Regions from separate parts of the Homo sapiens genome. Here regions 2 and 3 are each linked to region 1. Evidence: promoter capture Hi-C in human tissues and cell types (Jung and others, 2019). All regions are on one chromosome and are shown on one strand. Each heading gives the region's core, a stretch centred on a gene start or on the middle of the fragment in contact. The rest is flanking DNA. Distances are from core to core; before and after follow the strand shown. Region 1 holds the start of FUT8 (fucosyltransferase 8). Region 2 has its middle 140 kb from the start of LINC02290. Region 3 has its middle 45 kb from the start of LINC02290.

Evidence for each region. The method cuts DNA at HindIII sites, captures the fragments that hold promoters and counts their contacts. A contact is called where the count stands out against the background at its distance.
Region 2: a fragment that was not itself captured here is called in contact with the fragment with the promoter of FUT8 in region 1 in 1 of the 25 tissues and cell types used here (lymphoblastoid cells).
Region 3: a fragment that was not itself captured here is called in contact with the fragment with the promoter of FUT8 in region 1 in 2 of the 25 tissues and cell types used here (H1 embryonic stem cells and heart left ventricle).

The regions. Positions count from the first base shown.
Region 1 is chr14:65,411,328-65,414,027 of GRCh38, reverse strand. FUT8 (fucosyltransferase 8) reads right to left here and starts at 1,298. Exons shown (of 11, transcript NM_001371533.1): 1 at 814-1,298. It overlaps FUT8-AS1 (FUT8 antisense RNA 1), which reads left to right and starts at 1,411. Exons shown (of 1, transcript NR_024334.1): 1 at 1,411-2,700. RefSeq lists enhancers at 1-557, 1,800-2,119 and silencers at 480-669, 680-799, 1,100-1,259. The HindIII fragment of the contact is 6,462 bases long and covers 879-2,700 here.
Region 2 is chr14:65,973,001-65,975,700 of GRCh38, reverse strand. No RefSeq gene overlaps it. Among named protein-coding and RNA genes, the nearest start is that of LINC02290, 140 kb to the left of the region's middle. The HindIII fragment of the contact is 6,017 bases long and covers 1-2,700 here.
Region 3 is chr14:66,065,135-66,067,834 of GRCh38, reverse strand. No RefSeq gene overlaps it. Among named protein-coding and RNA genes, the nearest start is that of LINC02290, 45 kb to the left of the region's middle. The HindIII fragment of the contact is 3,448 bases long and covers 1-2,700 here.

The DNA of each region.
Region 1 (2,700 bases), core at 49-2,548:
GCCTCAATCTATATATTATATGGCAAAATGCTAAAATAAAAGCTCATCCGGGACAAACCCTAAGCATGACACTGCCACTTAAGAAATACACTGCGTCTCTGAAGATTGCAATCCCCACTGTGAAGAAAGAACAGGTGCTGCACCCGACAACCCACTCAATCCTGCAGGACAAACCTCCTAGAACTGATAAATATGGACTCATTTAACCTTCCCAAATAAGTTGATACTCAAAAGCCGCCAGCTCGTCATTTGCACATCAAAAGGGAGTACAGCTGCACTCAAGCCTTTAACTGCCCTGCATCAGTCCCTCGCGGATCTTTGTGAGGGTCCACTCCCTGCTTTCTAGCCCGAGCAGCACTCAGAAAGAGCCCATAACGCACGGGCATCTTCCTCCCCACAAACCGCGACTCCAGGGACCGAGCTGCTGACGAAGGGAAGGTAGGTGTGGAGGGGAAACGACGGACACCTCCCACCCCCGCCCCCAACCCTTCTCCTTCCCTAGGCTTTGGCCCCTGCCCTAGGCAAGGATGCGCGACGCCGAGGGCAGCAGCGGCGCAGCTCCGCGTCCCGGCTGGAGAGGCGGGCGCCCCTCACCCTCTGCCCGCGCCCCCGGGGCTGCGCCAAGGCATCCGCCAGAGCGTCCCGGGGGCTCCCTCCCCACTTTTCCGAGAGCCGCTGGTTAACCGGCAGCAGTTGCAGCAACAGGCCCGGGTGAACGAGCAGGGACAGCCGCGGAGCCTCCTCAGATCCCGCGCGCAGCCCAGCCCAAGACCCCGAGGCGCGCGGGGCCCGGCTCCCAAAACGCCCCCTTACCCCAGGCGGGAGCAGAGGCGGTCTCCGCCGCTCCCCGTCGCAGCTGCCAAAGCCACAGCCCTCAGCCGCAGCTGCCCCACGATGGGGGAGTGGGAAGGGTGGCTGAGTGGAGGATGCTACTCCCGACCGAACGGAGAGGAAGAAACGGAAACAGGAACCGCCGCCGCCGCTTAACGGAGCCTTCGGCGCCACTGACTGAGGCAGAGCGCGAGGCGGCGCGAGCCGGGCAGTCGCTGACAGCGCGAGACCGAGAGCGAGCTGGGTCCAGGGCGCGCGACCCTGAGCAGTGCCGGCCCCATTCCGCGGGGAGACGAAGGGACGGGTCGGCTGGGGCCAGGCGGCGGGGGTGGGATGGGGAGGGGGCCTGGAGAGGAGGGAACCGGCTGCTCGGGTCGGCCGGAGATAACGCGCGCACGCGCCGGAGCGGCTCTGACAACGAGCGCAGGCGGGGAAGCCTCGGCCAGCGCCGGCGTGCGCGCGCGAATGGGGGAGCGCGCCCCTCGGCGTTCCTGGCTTCTGGGAGAGGGCGCGCATGCGCCGGCCGCTGCCACCTACGGCGACCCTGGCATGTGCCAGGGATTCTCCCCGCCCCCTTCCTCGCTGCGCCGGTGGAGAGCGTAGCAGCAGCATCCACCGCCTAGCAGAGCCGCGGGCCACAGCGGGACGGCACAGTTCCAGCAGGGCAGCGGCTGCGCACGCCGGCTCCGGCTCGCACACAGGCGTAGGCCGCCCTCTACCGCCTGAAGGCCGGAGGCTGAGCGGGGCGCGAGCGGATCCTGGATCCCGGGAGGAGACTCGCCTCCAGAGAATGCTGTGCTCCCTACAGCGCCGGGAATGGACCGGCCCGTGCCAGCTCAGTCGGCGGCCCTAGGGGGCACCCGCACTAGAGGTTTTGAAGCTGGCTCCTTGCTACTTTTAGGGGTGCGCGCTGCTGCTGCTCAGCCCCTGCAGCCCGCATTTGGCCGCTTGACTGCTGCTTCCAGCGCGATCCTACAATGGCATCGCTCCCCCAGGAGACTCAGCGAAGCCCTACTTTATCTTGTAAGAGCTGTTTCCACATTCACTCGAAGAGAAAGACCCCCCCCACGAGGGCCTGAGTTCGATGCCCGGCCTCTCCCGACCCGCGGCTGCGACAGCCCCTCTGAGGCGGAAGTTTATTTAGTACGGGAAAGAGAACAGCACGGGGAGAGGGGAGAGGCTTTGCCCTAGGATGCGTCCTACCCGCTCGGACTCGGAAAATTCCCGGCGCCCGCGATGCAGAGCAGTGGACCGAAGGGCTGCCCCAGAGCAGCCCAGACCGCCAGCTGAGCGGGAGGACCGGAGCGCGCCGCCCCAGCACACAAAGTAGTCGCGGGACGAGGGGTGCCGCCGAGGCCAATCAGAGCTGCGCGCCGCGTGAGTGGAGTGCGAGCCGGCCAATCAGAGGGCCGGAAGATGAGCTTCCCGTTCCAAACTCTTCCCTGTAGCCTTGGGACCCAGATCCCAAGCCTGGGGCGCTTTACGGTGGGAGAGCGAAATGGTGCCCTTAAGACAAGAATCATTTCTCTAGGCTTGGGCATTTTAAAGTACATACCGGGGATACTTATCCCAAAGCAAGTAGCGGCGGCCTTTTAGATGTTAAATATTAAAAGATCACAGAAAGGAGATTTAAGAGGCAGTGGCCTGTCAAGGTTGCAATCTGCCTAATATTCATAAATTCACATATTTATTGAGACCTTCTTATGTACCAGGAACTCTATCACAGATACACAAATAAGGTACTGCTGATTCAAAAGAAAATCCCTTGTCCTCAAGCAGCTCAGGTTGTGAGGGAGGCTTTCCTAGACCTTGAGACTCGTATTTATTGTCAGCTCTTTAAACAAAAAGCACTCTATGAAGTGCTGTACT
Region 2 (2,700 bases), core at 120-2,619, 560 kb before region 1:
TTTTCCTCATACAGAAGTGAAATGGGTACTAAGAGATGGCTGGAGAGAACGCTGTTGCTATGAATTGCCAACATGAAATGAGGCCATCTAGGTAGCTTCTCTAAAACTGTGAGGCAGAGAGGAGTGAAGGGGCCTGAGCACCCAGGGGCACTATCCCCAGACATGCAGCCTTACTGTCAAGCAGTCGCTCTGTCTTGCCACATGGGAGGCATATTGGAGGGTTCATGCAACTCTGCTGAGTACTTAATAAAGCAGCCAGTGTCATGGGCTAGTGGCTGGAAGTACACCGGGGCTCTGTAGTGTTATTTTTTAGCCCAGACATCTGCTCTTTCACATCAGGCTAATAGAGACAGGAAGGTCACAGTGCTCTGCAGGGGAGCCGTCTCCAAGCACAGGAGCTAGTCAAGGACACTTGGGCCAGGTAATCTGTTACCTCTGAGCAGCACATAACAGTGACTAATCACCTCTATGGTTATGGACACATTTATAAATTCGATATTAACACCCAATACATTATTAATGACCCCAAATATGAATAATTCAGTGTGTCCACATTTAGCAGGTTTCTGCTTAAAAACCAGCTTTGCTTTGGTCTTGGCTCATTACATTGATCCAGAAAAAAAGGACTAGGAAAGAAACAGCCTAGCTCATGTTCGGTGTGCAGGGAGGCTGGGGCTCATCATGGGGAGTGTTTTCAGCCCAGACTCATGCTGATATAGGGAATTCACTTAGCACCCTCCACTACCTGCCTTCAGCTTATTCATCCACATAATGAAGACAGTTGGGCTAGATGATCTCTAAGACTCATTTCAGCCTTAAGATTCTGAGAAGGGGGAGAAAATAAAGCTAATGAAACTAGCAGAAAAAAAATGTAACATCCATGCTCCAGAAATGGTTGTACTTCACTGCCTCAATCTTGCCAGTTGTCCGAGGGATGAGGCTGGGACTGCTTGATGGCCTGGTTTCCTGGGTGTCTACATGCTTGCATCACCTAGCAATAGGTCCCACCTGCCTGTAAGCTGCTTGGGGTAGGGACTTATGTATCTTTGGGTTTACTGCAGCACCGAGCACAGTGACCAGCACTTAGTAGTTCTTTCTACATGAACGTCAAGTGAAATAATTAATGAGGCAGGTGTGAGGTGGACGTAATTCCTACCCCTTTGCCAGTTTAGTCCATCTCTGTAATGGGGAAGAAGAAAATTGCCCGGTGTGGCTTTCCCAGAATTTTGGAACTCTGTTTTTCACTCCAATAGGGCCATTCCATTCCTTTTTAGCCCAGCAGACTTATGGAAAAACATATGAACCCTGAAGCTCTCCAAAACTCATTCATCTTTTGCCTTTGGTTGAAGTTGAGCTGATCTCCACTCTTCCTAAGAGTTAATCTTCTGTTCTTTGGCTATTGAAACAGTGGCCTGGGTAGCAGCAGGAACCTACCAGTGTGTGGCCTCAGGCAGGTCAGTTCCCTAAGCCTCAGTTTGCTTATCTGCAAAACGAAAGTGTCGGACTCAGAGATTTATAGGGGCATTTCCAATCCAAAATTCATTATAAAAAGTGGGTGGGGAGAGAGGCAATGGGACCTGCCTTGCATAACCCAGGGTTTAGTGGCACTCAGATAGTAAAAAGTGGAATTGTCCATAATGGTTTAAATGATGGAAGAACCATGATATGACCCCCAGACTCAGTGAGCCAATTGCTGTGTTCCAGGGCCAGACCCCAGCAGCCAGCAGCCTCAGATTTGGGCTGATCATCTGTGAACCCAGCAAGTAGCTGCTAAATCACACCTGCTCCTATAAAAATAACTCCAGGTGCACTCCTGTGGGAGAAGAGGAAGGAGGCTGAAAGTCTCCCTTGGGATGATATGTAAGCTCTAGGCAAGAGACAATATTAGGAGTGATGGGAGTTAAAGTTGGAAATCTCCTGGTCCAGCCAAATGTTCCCAAGTGCACCAGTTCATGTAGGAGAAATTGGGAATTTTTCTGTTTTCAAAGATATGAGCCAATGGAGGCTCAATTACTTCTTTTGAGAGCCTGTTCTGCCTTGTGATCACGGGCACAGTTTTCTCCTAATTGAACTCTCTCTTAATGAGGCCCATTTCTTCCTCTTTAATCTTCTGAGCTGATAGAGAGGCACTGGCTATGGCTAGAAACTGAATTTAGATTTCCCCACTTCACTTTCCTGCTCTTGTTTACCAGCCTTCCTAATAGGGTCTCCTCTTTCTCCAGGAGAAAATACCCTTGTAAGCTTAAGGCTAGAAGCCATTCCTCTATTTTCCATGTTTCCTCTCAGGATCATTTCAGGTGCTGCACCTTCTTCTCAAAATACAGTGACCCAAGATTAAATGTACTCACCCCCTCCAAGAATATAGGTATGTCTTCTGTCACCCTGCCCCAAATTTCATGTTTGCTTTCACATAACTCCACTTCTAATTTAATTCAGCTGCTGTTTCACTGTGATTCTCAGATCGTTTTCTCCCCAGAAATGCCTGTTTTTGTTGTGTGATGCTGAGCTCATTTACATGCGTATGATAACACTGAGAAATAGCAGAGAATGATGACTGTGATGATAATGAAAATGAAAAGGAGATGGTGATGACATAGTGTCGGTAAGAGTGAACAGTGTTCTTGGAATGCACTAATCCCAGAAAGCATATCATTCCATAGGAATGTACTTCAATATGTGTTTCTAAAAGATAAAGACTTT
Region 3 (2,700 bases), core at 189-2,688, 650 kb before region 1:
TCCTTGTGGCTTCATGCCCTTGTTTATTCTTGGGCTGGGAAACCTGAGTCTTCCATTCCCAGGCCTGCTTCTGATCATATACAATGCAGTACTAAAAAGCCAGTTGGTCTCCTGGAACTTCTTTCTTCCCATTAGTTGTTGGCAATGCAAATGAAGGATTAAATCACAAGCAAGACAGACTTTTTGTTCAGAAGCTTGAGTTTTAAGAACCGTCCCCAGGGAAATCAAATGGAAGGGGGAAAACCAAGTATACAAGGCCTTCCTTCCATTCCCCCAAATGTCAGCCAAGAGTGCAGCCTAAGGGATGAGTCAGAAGTAGGGGAGCCAGGGCTTGGAAAACTGATTGTCTATACCAGGGCTTTTCATACTTTAGCATGCATCAGGATCACCTGGAGGGCTTGTTAAACACAGATGGTGAGGGCCCACCCCTAGAGCTTCTGATTCAATTGGCCTGGGGTGGGGCTCAAAAATTTGTGTTTTCAAAGTAGGTAATGCCGATGCTGCTGGTCTCTGGGGCCCCATACCTTGAGAACCACAGCACTACACTGTAGTCTCTCCCCACGTGTTCTAACTCAGTGCCTCTCAAACTCCAACGTGTATTCCACTCCCCTGAAAATGTTAGCGCACAGGCTCTGATGGAGGAGGTTGGAGTGCAGCTGGAGTTTCCGCTTTATTAACCAGCTCCCTGGTGATGAGGATGCTGCTGCCGCACTGAGGTCCCTACGCTGAAAAGCAACGCAAGGTAAACAATTGTCTTCTGGAGCTCTGCTTCTCTCTGATAGACATCTTTTCCTTCCTTTATGCCTTCCTGGTATATTGGGGATATTAGGGGAGACCTTTGAGAGACATGGGTGCCAGGGAATATCACTCTAAGTCTTCCTGGGTCTCGTTGGCCTGACCAACAGGAATCCAATGTTTATGTGCCAGAGGTTTGTTTTGTCTAAGCTACGAAATGAAACTTGGCCTTCTTTAACCACCCTTTGCTGGAGAGACCCTTGCCCATGATGCTGATGGGTGTGAAGCAGAAATACAGTGGAAGAGCTACCCTGGAGGAATCATGCTGCCAAGTCAGACAACTGGAACGTGTCTCACTACCGGGAGTAGTTTCACTGAGGTTGTGAAAGGGTGGGATTCAATGGGGAAAAGGAAAGCTTGCTCCCTTTATTATAAAAAGTGTTTACCAGGCACAGTGGCTCACACCCGTCATCCCAGCACTTTGGGAGGCTGAGGTGGGTGGGTCACCTGAGGTCGGGAGTTCAAGACCAAGCCTGGCCAACATGGTGAAACCCTGTCTCTACTAAAAATACAAAAGAAATTAGCCGGGCCTGATGGCGGGCACATGTAATCCCAGCTATTAGGGAGGCTGAGGCAAGAGAATCCAGGAGGTGGAGGTTGCAGTGAGCCGAGATCGCGCCACTACACTCCAGCCCAGGCAACAAGAGCAAAACTCCATCTCAAAAAAAAAAAAAAAAAGGAAAAAGTGTTGTGTTGGCAGCATATGGTTTCTGACCATGAGCTCTGTCTGGGGTTAAGGGACATAGACTCAAAGCTTTAAATGAAATCGCATTTGTAGGTTGTTTACCACAGAGCCTAGCCCTTAGTGTGTGCTTAATGAATGACAACTGCCATCATTTTTAAATTGGGAAGTACTAATTGTAGTAGAATCAGAATCCATATCGGAGGAAAACTGGCAGCTTGATAGCCTATAGAATCAAACATGATGTTTTGGCCACTGGGATTTCCTGTGCTCCGGAGGCCTAGCTCAGCCCCTGTGCTATTTAGTACATTTTTGTTGAATGAAAAGAAGGAGCTATACAAGTCTGGGTAAATTGGTAGGTGGGGGGCATTTGATCTCATGGAAATTGTCCGAAAGGAAAAAATGAATGGAATTCTGAAAGTGAGGTCTTTCAGGCCCTGGGTAACCTTGCTCGGTTTATTTATAAAATGGATCACTCCCACTCCTTGACAGGGTTATTGTGAGAAATGTTTTGTGATGGAAAGTGCTTGGTTAATTATAAAGCATAAATCAAGTATTCATTATTTTAATAAAGTGGAGGACCTAAAACTACCTAACAGGTCATTTGAATTGTGACCACTTTAGTGATGAGGCTGGGAGTAAAATTTTCCTGCCATCAGGTGTTAGTATGTTGGATAGGCCTTTTAGGCTGGCTCTCACTTGCTAGAAAAGCCTCTGAGCTTCTTGGTATTATTTGCTAAATGGGACATAAACCTTTTCAGAAAGCCAGAGTACAGGTGGGCCAGCAGGTAAGGCCGCCTGAGAAGGACTCACCTTTGTCGACCCAACAGGGAGCCCGTGAGCCTGGCTGGCAAGGAAAGACCCTCAAATCTCCCTTCCCAGCCCCTTCTCAGTCTAATGCATCTCATTTATTGTTAATGCTGTTTCCACTGGCTCATTTGCAAACAGCCTGAATAAAACATCAGAGCAGAGCGGGAGGGGTAGTTCTGTCTTCTGCAGCTGCCTCTGCCACACTCCTGTCCTCCTTCCTTTCCTCCAGTCCCTTCTCCCCTCATTACTCTGATTAACAATCTTTACCTAATTGGCTTGTCATGAAACAGCCAAATAGGACTCCTGGGCTCTTGCAAGGATAGTGAGGAAAAATCTCGGGCAGGCCCAGCATTTGCTTTTGTTTTTTTTTTGTTGTTGTTTTTGTTTTTCTGGATGTGGGGGGAAGAAAAGCA